Regions from separate parts of the Homo sapiens genome. Here region 2 is linked to region 1. The links are contacts of gene promoters, found by promoter capture Hi-C in blood cells and fetal thymus (Javierre and others, 2016). All regions are on one chromosome and are shown on one strand. The core of a region is centred on a gene start or on the middle of the fragment in contact, and the rest is flanking DNA. Distances in the headings are between cores, read along the strand shown. Region 1 holds the start of USP1 (ubiquitin specific peptidase 1). Region 2 holds the start of HOOK1 (hook microtubule tethering protein 1).

Region 1 (7,023 bases), core at 2,203-4,702:
GCATTACTTAAAGTTTATTTTTATAATTTGCAATCATATGCCTCCAACAGGTATGACTAGTTACATGACTAGAGTTTAAAATGTCTTATAACTGTCAAGTCTTCTGAACCAAACAAATATATATATATATATATATAAAACCTTTTACCCCTACACAGATGTTTTGCACTACAAATAATCAAATTTAAACTCAGAAAGACAATTTTAGTCAACAAATATTTCTCCAAGTTAGTCTAAATGGCTGAGCACAGTGTTAACATGAGTTAAACATTATCGATGTGATTCCTACGGGGAACCACCAGTTTTGCTGTTCCTACTATAAACTGCTAGATTTGACTAAGAAGTACACTGAAGCGTACTTTTTTGTGCCGCTACAGACTATCAAGTCAGACTGGAGTTGTCAACCAAGTTCACTGCTGCTTTACTGTAGAATTTTTAAAGTACAGAAATGTAAGATACATACATTTCAGATGCTCTATATTCAGAAGCTTTTTCTTCATTTTCTTGAGAATCTGTGAAATCCAAAGCTCTCTTAGTTTCCTTTTTCTGAAAAAACTTTAAGGAAAGTCTGTTTTTCTTTGAAGGGCTACCTCTTGAAAGTCCATTACTTTCACTAGGTATGACACCAGGCATTTTTTTCTTCAAATCCCAAGGAGTGTCAAGAGTTAATTTATAGAGGAAAGTTGTAATCACCAATTATATCTGTTAATCACAGAGAAAGTTTCATTAGTTTTTGGTTATCAGTTTTGGCAACAAAATCATCAATTTTGAAAACAAATTTACCAAGGGAATGGTACAAATTAGAAATTAACATTTGAAAACCTAATGCCTGCCAATAAGCACTCAATATTTATTGCTTAAATGAAGAAGCATACCACACTGTTCTTAAAGAACAAAAAACAGAAGCTACTGAATTTTTAAAATCAGCCTGCTATGGATTAAGGGTCGCATTACAAAATATCCTATTTAGTAGACCTACAGTAAAATAGTATAAGTAGTAAAAACTTATTATTTCAAGGGCCGGAAGCGATAGCTCACGCCTGTAATCCCAGCACTTTGGGAGGCCGAAGCGAGTGGATCACGAGGTCAGGAGTTCGAGACCAGCCTGACCAACATGGTGAAACCCCATCTCTACTAAAAATACAAAAATTAGCCGGGCGTGCTGGCGGGCGCCTGTAATCCCAGCTACTCAGGAGGCTGAGACAGGAGAATCCCTTGAATCCGGGAGGCGGAGGCTGCAGTGAGCCGAGATCGTGCCATTGCACTCCAGCCTGGGCCATAGAGCAAGACTTAGTCTCAAAAAAAAAACAACTTAATATTTCATTATAATGATTCATTCAGAAAATATTGACTGAGCACTACCACCTCTAATTCTCAAGTACAAGGTAGGAAAGGATGAATGGAAAATCAAAGTAGTGCTGGACGATGAGTCCTCTCTTCCAATGCCTTTTCTAGTTATTAACATGGATATATGAAAATAAAGTACCTAAAAAGCTTATTAAAGAATAATTTGCATTCAAGGCATAGAGATGGTGTTAAGTTATACCTAAAACCGTAAGTGAAAGATAAAACACAAGCAAAGTTGAGACCGTGATAAAAAAAACTGTTCGATGCACTTTGTGTAAATCCAATTCTTAATGCACTAGAAACCACAATACTCGTTTTCCAAACTTTTTAAAAAACTTTGGATTTTAAAAATAGTGCTTTGAGTAGGAAAAAAAGATGATTTGGTTTGCCATTTGCAACTTTCCCACCCTGTTTTAAAGTAAAACTTGCACGTGAAAAAAAATGGCAACATTTGTAGGAGTGTAGGAGTTAATATTTTCTACATCAGGCCTATTTTTCAGGACATGGGAGGAAAAATTATCTGACTAGAGTATTACCATAAAATTACTTAAAGCCCAAAACTTCAGCAACGAGTTTCAAATTTAAAATGCAGAGTAATAAAATGAACTACACAAGACTCACTCAAATTTCATCCTTAATAAGCATTTCACATGGCTGACACTGATCTAGGAATTCATACTGAACTCAGCACACTGAAACCATTTCTGAGACCCAAATCAGGAAGCACTGGAAAGCTGATCCATCTCTCCATTCTGTCTCCAACTTCACTTACTCTCCTGTCTACCTAATGCTTCTGAGGAAGCGCTGTCTTCTGAATGATAAACCAACCTGCGCTAAGTTCTCAGGGATCGCCAAGCATTAATGATTCTGATAAAAGGTTTTTCTCGAGAGCCAATTTAATGGATGACAGAAACTGGATCTCAAACCGACAGAGTAACCAGACTACACAGAAGGGAAGAATGATTAGGCAGGTGAAATAGCGGATCGTCAGCTTAATCAAAAAACCAAACCTCCTAGCCCCTCAAAGCAAAGCTCACACCGAGAATGTAACATTTTGCCAGGTGCAGTATCTTCCTTGCTATTTCTTGCTCCTGGCTTTCCTTGTAACTGGGGGGCTGTTACATCCAAAATATTTCTCCTGTAACTAAATCAACTTTCGCAGAAAGCACGACGAATCGACCATTATCTGTTGACAGCGTGAACACTCAGTCCCAATAGTTTTAAATTCTTTATAAGATGACACGACTCGATTCCGATTTTTCAACAAAAATCTACAAGGACATCTTCGCCAAGGTTTAAGACACGCGGCGTTCTAAACACTTCTTGAAAAAGTGTAAGTGAAAGAAAATGCGCGGTAAAATTTCGCAATTACCGACACAGGGCAACCTGCGTGGAAACGTTTCTTTCTCCCCATCCTTCACCGCTCTCGGGAACGGAAAGAAAGCTGGAAGGACGAGCAGCGACCAGGCTGCCCGGTCGGGGGAGGCTGGCGGCGGCGTCCTCGGCCCACACCCCCGCGCCGGGCGCCCTCGCCGCGGAGTTGGCCTATTTACGCCCAGCCCGCACCTGCCTTCTCGCGTCCCGGCGGCGGCAAGACAGGCGCCACGCCCGAGGCACACACGGCTCCCCCTGGCAGGTCGACCAGGGTGCGAGGCCAACACGGTCCCGGGGTCTCCCCGGCAGCTCCTCTCCCGCGCCGGCCGAACTTGCCCCCGCGCCCGGGAGCCGGCCCCTCCTCCCAGGCCCTCCTTACCTGGTCATGGCCCAAAGCGAAGTCCGCGGCGGTGACGCCGGCAAGTCCAACCCGAATGAGTGTGGGTGCGACAGGTGAGTCCCTGCCCCGAGCCCGCCGGGTCCCCGGCCCCAGGAAAATCTGGTCGGCTCGCCCTCCCCGCGGGGGAGTGACCATCCGCTCCCAAGAGCGGGAACCCCGACCGCCGCTCGCTCCCGTCTTGCACCAACACCAACTACATCCCGGGAGCGGCGCCCATCTGCGCCCGCCCCGGGAGAGCCAGGAGCGCAACAAGCAGCGGCCCCGCTCGCCGAACGCCTGAACCGCTAGGGTCTTTAGCACTCCGCCACCGAGGGGAACTTGGCGCGTTTTCCTCAGTCTCAGGACCCCCGTGTTTTAGCCTCCGCCCGCGCCAGCGCTGCGATTGAACGTGGCGTCCTTTGAAATTGCCGGTTCCAGTCTCCACGCTGCAGAGACACGAAAGGCAGGAGCCGTCTCGCGACGGCCACTCGCCCCTGGCACGCACGGGCTCCGGAGCCAGCTGGGACTGTAGTTCCCCAAAAGCCTAACGGGTTCCACAGTTTCAAACAACGCAGGCACAGAGCCGGGCAGCTCGTGCGGGTCCTCGCTGAGGGCGCGCGCGAGGTGCTAGCGGCCTGGCTGGCGGGCTCGAGCCTCACACCCTTTTTTTAACCATTCGTGCGCGCGAGTTGAGGGAAAAGCGTACGGGTCGGGAGACGGGACAGAGAGCAGACGGGATGGGCCACCACCTCGAGAAGGAGCCCAAATTCACCAATCCATGATGAACAATCCCCAAAACCGCGCCTCCCACCGCCCGGGGGAAGCCAATCAGAAGTACCTAGACCAAAGCCAATTAGATGGGCGGGAGCAGCAAGCCCATCTAATAGCAAAAAAGAAGAAAGGTGGGCTCCAGCCAATCATTGTTCGACATACGGAGTGTTCCTCAGGCGCGGTGCCCCTCCTTCCGCTCTCATTGGCGCTCGAGTGCGCGCTTTCGCTGCCGACTGTTAAAATCTTGTTTGGCGTTTTGTTAATCCTCGACGGTGGGACGCCGCGGAGGGTGCGGCTTCCGGAGCGAGGCCCTCGCGGTAAGCCCCGCCTCCGTTCGTGCGTACGCGCCCGGGCGGGGTTACCAAGAGAGCAGCTTCGGAAAATGGCTGCCCGGCTGGACGCCGCCGCGCTTGGGCTTTCAGTTCGGAGTCGCGGCCACACTAGGCCTAGGGCCATCCAATGAGACAAGGCGCTGCCACGGATAACAATACATGCTCAGGCGAATGCTGTAGAGCTGAGGCCCGGTCCTCAGCCCCTGCTCGCCTCATTTTCGCCTGTTTACCTCTTCCCTTTCTCGGCCGCAGGAGGAAACGAAAGAACAGTTTCAGGCCCAGCTCCGGCCGCGGGAGCTTCCCAGGGTTCCCGCGCGAGCCCTCCCAAAGGGTTCAGGAGCGGCAGGCAGGCCTCATCTGGTTGTGTGCTTCCTTTTGTGTTTGTGTGCCTGCTTTGGTGAGGTGACCTCAGCTCAAGTGCTGCAGTTAAGCAGGATACGTTCAGCCCAAATCCATTTAATCAAGTATTTTTAAGGTGCCTACTATGTGCCAGGCATTTTTCAAGGCGCGAGGGATGTAAAGGCATTCCCTGTCATAAAGGAGCATTACATTCTGGAGAGGGAGATACAAGTGACGCTAAGATAAGTGATAGATACGATAGCCTGGAAAGACCTCTTTGAGTTGACATTTGAGCAGAGCTGAATGAAAAAGCTTGGAGGAATCTGAGGGAAGAATGGTGCGGGCAGAGAGAACAGCAAGTTACAAACGTCCTGAAGCTTAATGTGGTTGGTGTTTTGAAAAGAAGCAAGGAGGCCAGGGCGCTTAGAGCGCAGTCAATTTGGGAAATAAGATGGGAGGAGATGAGATGAGTGAGAAAGGCAGGACCCTGGGTAAGCCGAGTAAGGAGATGGGAGTCGTTAGATGATTCTGAGCTGGGGAGTGGCGGGATTACACGTTGACCTTCAAGAGTACAAGCAGGGTCGGGCGTGGTGGCTCACGCTTGTAATCCCAGCACGTTGGGAGGCCAAGGCGGGCTGATCTCTTGAGGTCGGGAATTCGAGACCAGCCTGACCAACATGGAGAAACCCCGTCCCTACTAAAAATACAAAATTAGCCGGGCGTGGTGGCGCAGGCCTGTAATCCCAGCTACTCCGGAGGCTGAGGCAGGAGAATCGCTTGAACCCAGGAGGCGGAGGTTGCGGTGAGCCGAGATCGCCTCACTGCACTCCAGCCTGGGCAACCAGAGCAAAACTCTGTCTCAAAAAAAGAAAAGTACCAGCGGAAAGGTCAGCCAAGATGCTGGTTCAATAAGCCAAGGAATAAATTATGGTAGTCTGGAATAAGATGGTGGGATGTTGAAAACTGGTAGGGTTCAAGATATATTTTGAGCACAGCCAACGAGCTCTACTGATGGATTGGCTGTATGATAATGTAAGAAAAAACAGGTCGGGTAGCCAGGGCCGGTGGACCGCTTGAACCCAGGAGTTCAAGATCAGCCTGGGCAACATGGCAAGACCCATCGCTACAAAAAACTCCAAAAATTGGCCGTGCGTGGTGGCACGTGCCTGTAGTCCCAGCCACTCGGGAGGATGAGGGAGGAGGATCCCCTGGCTGCAGTGAGCCGAGATGCACCACTGCACTCCAGCCTGGGCAACAGTGTGAGGCCCTGCCCTCCACCCTCCCACCCGAAAAAAGAAAAAAAAACAAAGAGTAACGATTTTTTTTTTAACCTGAGCAACTCAGTGTTGGTCCTTGCTAAAATGGGGGTCTTAGTAGGCTCAATGGGAAGGATCATCGTTCTTAGAATATTAAGATTGAGGTGTTTAACGTACAAACAGATGTTGAACCAGCAGATCACGAAATACACAAGGACAAGATTAGAAAATGTATATAGGTCAGTCTTAGCCATTGTGCACCACAGAGTGGCAGTGTCTCATTTTCTAGTACTAGCATAATTATTGCTACTTTCAAACTCTACGAGAACAGATAAGCAATTCTACTTTCCCATATTCCTGAGATCCTATTGTCTGCAGCCACTATTCTTCCTGTACACAATGTGTGGTATCAGTTAAGATTCATTTGCGGAAAATAGAATCCATTTTAGCTAGTATAAACACAAAGATATTGAATACTTGGGAGGGTTGATTAAATAGGCTCTAGATTAGTTTTTCAGGAATGAGTCCCAAAGTCTTCCCAGAACCAGGCCACCAAGGAAGCAATGACTCTTCTATGATCAGGAAATGACGTCTCTGAATCACACTGCTGCTGCCATGCCTAGGAAACCACCATCAGAAAGCTGCGTGCACCGCTGACCCTAGAACCACACTATACCCACTATGATCTGCACCAGTGCCATGCATATCCTACGTCCCGTCTGTCAAGGCCCACAGGACAAGTGGCTAGACACTGAGGTTTCTGCTAATGCTGCTTCAGAAAAATCAAACACCTCCACAACTGTGCTTGTCAACAGCAATAGCAGAAGTTTGGTGTGTCTCTGGCAATATGATTAATGTAAAAATTTAATATGCTTCTCATTCTTTTGCTTTCAGTCAGTTGTTTGTGGGAGAAATTCTAGCCACAGTTCTTGCCTAGATGAGTTTTTAAGCCCCGAAACTTTTTTCCCAGTTTCTGTGTGCTCCCCAGTTACCCCACTCTTAATGACAGCTAATCCCTTTGGAAACAATGGGATTTAATAGGTTCACAGCATTCTCAATCCTATATTTGTCAGTCTTGTGTGGGTAAATGCCAGGCATATTTCCTTCCAAAGTTTCACAGGCACTGTTTCTGTGTACAGTCATCCCTTGGTATCCATGGGGGATTGGTTCCAGGACCGTTATGGATATCAAAATCCGAGGATGCTCAAGTCCCATATATAAAATG
Region 2 (7,023 bases), core at 1-2,500, 2.6 Mb after region 1:
CAAACAAATGGAACTATGCTAATATGTCTCTATGGCTGTGTAACTTTATAAAAATAAACTAAACATTTCACAAAATCATGCCTAGGACATTAGAACATATTGATGCCATGCATAAGTAATACATAATTTGGAATAATACAAAACCAGGTATATAACTCTAGTCTTGTGTTTTGTCTATATTTAGCAGAACATCAGAAAAAGAACTTAAAGATAACCCAACATTTGCAACTTAAAATTTCACTCATATCATTTGATAGAAAAACAAAGGCTAGAAATGTCAAGTCTAAACCTACTTACAGTTTATCCATGAGCTCTGAAATAAGACAGGACTTCTGTTTCCTATCTAAAAATTGGCCTTACGTCTTGAAGAATCAAGCCCTATCTATCACGTCAAGTTGTTTCTATCTATTTTGGCTTTAGGTATACTAACTTTTCACATATATCTGTTAAATATTCATGTATATATTGAAGAGAAGCGGAATAATAACCTCTTTTTACAATAAGCAAATATGAGATAGAAAAAAATTTAGAAAGCAAATTACATCAGAGCTAAAATGGATCATAAACTTTCTAGAAAGGTAATCTCAACCTATAAACACCTTAAGTTAAATATACTATGATTCTCTTTTCCCACACATACTCACCCATTTCACTGTTCACTAATAATTTCTTAGTTTACCATTTAACTATCTTAATCCAATAAAATTCTCTCCCGCCATAATTCACTTTTAATGGTTCTGTGCATTTTCAGAGTTGGCAACTGGAGATTCAGACCTCCATTATCTAACACAACACAGATGAATGATACCAGCAAACTAAACCTAGCCAGTTATTTTCAAAACACACAGAGACACTTTACTAAGCTCCTACGCTATGTGAGACACTGTGGCACATGATGGGGCTACAAAGGAAAACCACCAGGTTTCTACCCTTAAAGCTTCAGTCAAAAGTTAAGGAGAGGAGGAAGAGACATAAATCATTTCTAGACAATATGGTAAGTCCCATGATTACAGTATGCACAAAATGTTCTGCAAAAAATGGGTGTCAACTAATCTAATTAGGGTTTGTATTTAGGAAAGGCTTCTCGGAGATGATTTCTGAATGGAAGGTCTAGAGGGAAGAGTAGCATATTTTCTAAGTAAAGAAATAGTCAAGGAAAAAAAGCTTCAGGAAATAGGAATATGATAAAAGTACAGATACATGAGAAGAGATATTATTTTTAGGGAACATGCAGTTCAGTATCACTGGATTTGCAGTGCAAAGAAGGCTGGGGAAGGGGTGACAACCAACAGGGTTAAAGAGACAGGACTCCAAAGGGCCATGACAAGAAGCTTGGACTTATTTTACACTTAATGGCATTATCTACATAATAAGAAACAGTAGAGTAGTTTCTACCTCACAAGATGGTTGGGGAATTAAGTGAAATAGCAAATATACCTATATCAGGGCCTGGCATGTGGCATAAGCTCAACAGCTGTTAGCACATTAGCTATGAGTCAGGGTTTCTCCAAGTATAGGGCCTAGAAACAATATGTATCAGAATCTCTAGACATATTAAATAAGAAAATCTCCAACTGATTCTTAAATATGTCAATTTTGGAGAACCACTGCTCTGGGTGATGAAAAATCACTGAAAAGTAATAAGGAAGAGTAACATTCTTTGGCATATTTTGGAGAGCAGATAGTGACACAGAGTAGCTTTATGCCTGAGTCAGGCAGACCAGTTAGAAGGTTCCTGCAATGGCTCTGATGACAAAAATAGAGTAGAGGGAATCAGCATAATATTGACTGAGAGGAGATGATGAATTAATGGAATATTTAAAATACAAAATAAGAAGGATTTTGCAACTGGGTGGATGTACAGGGAAGAGAAACTCCAAGAATTAGGGCATCTTTAAAAGGAAAATAAACTGTGACTTCCACTTTTCAGCCCTTCCAACTTAAACATTAACTTTTAATGTGTAACTTAGAAGTTACATCATTAACTTTTTACAAAATTGACACAATTCATGATTTTAAAAGGACAATTTCAGAGGCACAGAATACTAGGCAAAATAAGAGGTACACATGCTAAGGGACTACCTCCATGACCACTATGTTCAGATTAAAATCAATTTCCCCTCCTTCCTGCCATGGACATTGGAGTGTCTCTGAGAAGTTCTTAAAATAGCTGCAAAATAAATTAGAAAACAGAATGTAATTTGATTTCACTCAATTGAAAGGCTTACAACCAAGAAGAGTGAATTAATTAAAAAGCTTAGTGGGGAGGCTGGGTGCAGTGGCTCATGCCTGTAATTCCAGCACTTTGGGAGGCCGAGGCAGGTGGATCACTTGAGGTGAGGAGTTCGAGACCAGCCTGGCCAACATGGTGAAACCCTGTCTCTACTAAAAATACAAAAATTAGCCGGGTGTGGTGGCACATGCCTGTAATCCCAGCTACTAGGGAGGGTGAGACAGGAGAATCCCTTGAACCCGGGAGGTGGAGGTTGCAGTGAGCCGAGATCATGCCACTGCACTATAGCCTAGGCAACAGAGTGAGACTTCGCCTCAAAAAAAAAAAAAAAAAAAAAAAAAAAAATGCTTATTGGGGCGAGTGAGGTCAAAGCAGACAAAAGAAAATGTATTCTTTCTAACTAAAGTCTTTTTAGTGAGTGACCCAAAAAAGACAGACAGGGTTTCCACAGGTGTCTACCGCTAAACACAGTGTTCTGGCAAATAATTACCTTACTCTCTTCTATATTTCTAAATAAAACAAATAATCAGAAATGTGGAAATGCTGTTCCTAAACTACTTTAATATAAATGTCACAGAAATCAAGGAAAATGGGGTTTTCACAACCAACAGCCAACAAAAACTCAATCTTGGATCAACTTTATTTTCATATTCTCCTCCTCCAGCTGCTCATTACAAAAAAAACAACCATTGCTTTAAGTTTTAAGATCTTCATAAAAATAATTGAGGTTTTAATAATTTTCTAAATTTAGGCATATATTAATTATTACTCTTTCCTTCATCTGCCTGTCAAAGAATGCAAGAACCAAGAAAAACATTTAAATATATTTGGTCCAACCTTCTAATTTTATTGGTGAAAGTAAGGTCCAAAGATATTAAACAAATTTCCAATGTCACAGAACCAAGTAGCAGAATTAAATTTATCTTTATACAAACATTTCTTCAAACTCTCATACATGTCCTCCAACATGTAAATGATACCCACATTTACCCTTTTGCCCTGAATTTTCTGCTAAGTAGCAGTACAACATTTCTAAGAGCCAATTATTTTAAGACGGTGAGTTCCAAATCATAAAATGCAATTTTTAAAAAATTGCCACAAGAGGCATTCCTTCACATAACTAACTTTTCTTGATGACTTCTCTAATTCTGTTGATGTTGGCTCCATTCTCCTCCTAGCGCTGAAAGAAGAGTTATTCCCAACTGTCTTATCTCCATGATTTGGCCCCATCATAACTTTTTTTAATCTTCTATCTTTGAGCCAGGGTTATCATGACAAATGTGTGTGTTCCACTATCTCCCTTTAATCTATAGCCAAAGGAGACCATTTGTTTTACTACTAGTGTCTCTTCCCTGTGTCTGGAGAACTAATTTCCACTGATTTCTACTTGCTGAAATCCAACAATCCTCTATGACCCAGTTAAAAATTCACTCCCAAGTATTTATAAAAAACTAAGCTATATCACACTTAATGGTGAAACACTAGTCTCTGAGGTGAGAACCAAGGCAATGATATTTACTATCACCACTTTGATTTGGTGTCTTATTGGCAATAGTTGTCAGTGTTCTCCTAGGGACAGAGCAGAAAATAGGTCATGTAAGAGCTCTGATCCCAAAAGCCAACTGGATTACTTTAGAAAGTACTGTGTTATAGATAAGACAGAAAGAGGTTAACAGGTTACAGTGGGATAAGGGTGGGAGACAAACTTTAGAAATGGTTGTAACAAAGAGTCCCTGAAAAGCAACATCTGACCCAAGACCTGAATGACGGAAGCAGCCAACCACTGGAAGAACTAGAAAGAGAATATTCTAGGTAGAGGGAAAAAAATCCCTGATGCATTAAAACAGCTTAGCTTCTTCAACAAATAGAAAGTCAATGCAGCATGATAGGCTTGAAGAACTGTTGCTTGAGGTGAGTTTGGAGAAAGTTGGGTAGGTGAGGTAAGATCAACAGTGCGGTTGCTGGCAAAGGCAAAAATAATTAGTTAATTAAAAAAAAAAGACAGTAAACTTCACTGGAAATCATCTAAAGAGGTAAAGAAAAGGCAACAGACAAGATAACCAGAAACCAAGACAAGATAATTTCACAAAGGAACCATCAAGTAAGAAAATGGTAATATAACACTTAGTGGATTTAGCAAACTGGTAATGAAGTGAAAGTCTTAGAGGAAAGAAACTCAAGGGTAGTGGGTTGAAGACTGAATGAGAGTGAAGCATAAAGGGTGAGAATAAAACAACTCAAATTTTACTGTGAAGGAAAGGGGAAATACAGTATGACTTTAACACGGAATAGTGGCTCTTTGTTCTCTGTTAAAAAAGGGGAATACTTCAGCAAGTTTATACATACAGAGAAAGGAGCCAATGGAGAGAAAGTAGTTGTAAATACAGAAAGGGAACAAATGATACAATAACGTTTTAAAAGAGGTGGAAGGGATGGAGTCTAAAGCCAGAGCCAAGGATAAGGAGGTGGTCATTTGCCCCAGAGGAATAAGAGTTGGGGGCTCAGGTAGAATACTGATAAAGGTTTGCTAAGAGGAATGTGAGAGAAACTGTCTGGTTATTCTTAAGTATGGGCAATGTTAGGAGAAAAGGTGCGTTTGACAGTAACAGCATTAGTAGAGGCAACAGTTTGCACGGTCATTCAATTTTCTCCACAGTGCTCAGCAGCCCAAGAGAGGACTGAAGAAAACGACCAATTTTACTCTGTTATCTGTGATTCCTTATCATTTGGTTTACAACATATTTGCAGCTTTTACGGAATTTTACCTTCCACTGTAATTACACACAGCTCTGGCTACCACTCCAGTCCTCCCCAGTGCCTAGCTCAACATTGGAAGTCAATAAATTCTGGTTAAAAGAGTGGATACAGTCACATAATATTTTAAAATATTACAACACAAAAGAAAATCCTGTGCTTCTCCACCACCTCACATGTAAATCAATGACATCATAAAGACTAAGCTTAACACTTCAGTCAATTGAGGTTTACAATAATGTAGCAGATTCGGATACACCCTTTAATTAGTCTGTTTTAACAAAACAAATCATTAAAAGTAATGTTGCCTTGTTTCTACGACAGTCTTAAATACAGCACTTCCACCCCAATACCTATTTCAAATGAAAATTCAGCTGAACAGTTAGCTAATTGCTTTTAACTCACAAACCCTAAATATTTGCATTCCACTAAAAGCAAAAGTTATTTACTTACAAAGTGTAAATGCTTTAAATTATGGCTATTTCCAATAGGCTTCACACATTTCCATAAACCTAGATTTCTCATTCTTTGGAATTAGATGCATTAGATCACTAGGGAATCTCAACCGATTACAGCCTCCTGATCCCGTCTGTTTACATTCCATCTGCACACACTCCCCTAGACGCAACTAAACAACTGGTTTGGGATGAGCATCATCAACAGCACCTTGTGGCTCATCAAACACCATCTTTACTCAATATGGGTTAAGAACCACACCTGAATGCCAGCACTGATATCTAAGTAACTCTAAGAGGTGGGATGTCATTTTGCTGACTGGAATATTGAACAATCTGGGGACAGATATGCCTGTCCAGACCCAACACAAATTAACAAAAATCCTAAACACAGATAAATCCTAAAGAAAAATGTCAACTCATTTTCTTTAAAGAAAATGCTGTCCATTTAGAGGAGGAGAGGGCCAGCGAGAAAAAGGGAAAACGACCCCCGACTCCCAACACATCTTTTTCTCCATACGGGAAATACAAACATCTCTTTGAAGCGGCTTCTACAAAATCGGATGTTCTAGAGTCCTGAAGGAGCATTGGTCCGGGAACTAAAACAGCCAGCCACCTCCTGGCCACCTGTGTCCAGGTAGAGCAAGGTAGTTTGAGGATGCAGGGTTAGGTTTCGGAAAGGGTCTTCACGCCCAAGCGGACCAAGGCAAGAGAGTCGGCGATCCAGAAAGTGGAGGGCTCGGGCGCTGTTCAGGGGGAGAAAATGGGGCAGCGGGGAGAAAAGAGGATGGGTGCTTGGTTCATATCCCAGCTGTTAGGGCACCAGGCAGGTCGAATCCTCTGGTTGAGACCAGAGCCTCCACTGTTACGCTCCCAGAGCTTCCTTTACCCCCACCCCCGGACACCAACCCGCGCCCACACACCTGCCCGTCGACCCGCAGGTGGCATTCTCTCGGTCAAGGGCACGAGGTGAGAAGGGCAGGGTGCGCCGGGACCCTGTGCAGGTAGCCCCAGCTCACCTGGGAGAACCGGGCGCCCCAGGCTCCTCGCCTCGGCCCCCTGGCCCCCTCGCCCTCTCGCCTCCTCGCACTCACCCAGATCATGAGGCTGTCGCACAGGGGCAGCTTAGGCTGCGGCGGCGGCTGCGTCTCCTCCATGGCCGGCGCCGCCGTCGACGACGCCGCGGACACCTTCACACTCCCTCCTACCGGCTCTCCTCCAGGAGCCGGCGTCCACGACCTGCTAGCCCCCAGGAAAGCTCGGTACCAGGCCCGACCCGCGCAGCTCACGCGCGAACCCTCGCGCTGTCGACGCGTCCGGCGTCACCCCCTCCTCACCCGCCCCCGCCTCGCTCCAGCGTTCGCCCCCTCCCCTTCCTGGGCCCCGGCCGCGCTGCCAGGCACCTGAGCCCCGCCTTCTCCCACCCCTCCCCTCCTCCCACCCGTCCTGCCCACTCCCGCACACCTCGCCCCGCCGCCCTGAGTGACCTGGCCGCGCACCAGTCACAGAGACGGTAGGTACCCGGGGGGGCGGGCGGGGCGGGGCGGGGGCGGGAAGAACCGGGATAGGTTGCGCAGGGGG

What was found. Contacts are between HindIII fragments. The CHiCAGO score rates a contact against its expected background, and 5 or more counts as called.
Region 2: a fragment that was not itself captured here is called in contact with the fragment with the promoter of USP1 in region 1 in 1 of 17 cell types (naive CD8 T cells); the score reaches 5.8 in naive CD8 T cells.

The regions. Positions count from the first base shown.
Region 1 is chr1:62,433,478-62,440,500 of GRCh38, reverse strand. USP1 (ubiquitin specific peptidase 1) reads right to left here and starts at 3,452. Exons shown (of 9, transcript NM_003368.5): 1 at 3,101-3,452; 2 at 464-702. The coding sequence starts at 633. RefSeq lists enhancers at 403-462, 3,556-3,625, 3,450-4,217, 4,186-4,535, 4,218-4,985 and a silencer at 2,796-2,855. The HindIII fragment of the contact is 3,360 bases long and covers 1,497-4,856 here.
Region 2 is chr1:59,814,694-59,821,716 of GRCh38, reverse strand. It overlaps HOOK1 (hook microtubule tethering protein 1), which reads right to left and starts at 6,768. Exons shown (of 22, transcript NM_015888.6): 1 at 6,537-6,768. The coding sequence starts at 6,599. LOC105378758 (a long non-coding RNA gene) reads left to right here and starts at 6,851. Exons shown (of 5, transcript XR_947426.3): 1 at 6,851-6,955. RefSeq lists an enhancer at 5,901-6,464 and a silencer at 6,701-7,023. The HindIII fragment of the contact is 167 bases long and covers 1,167-1,333 here.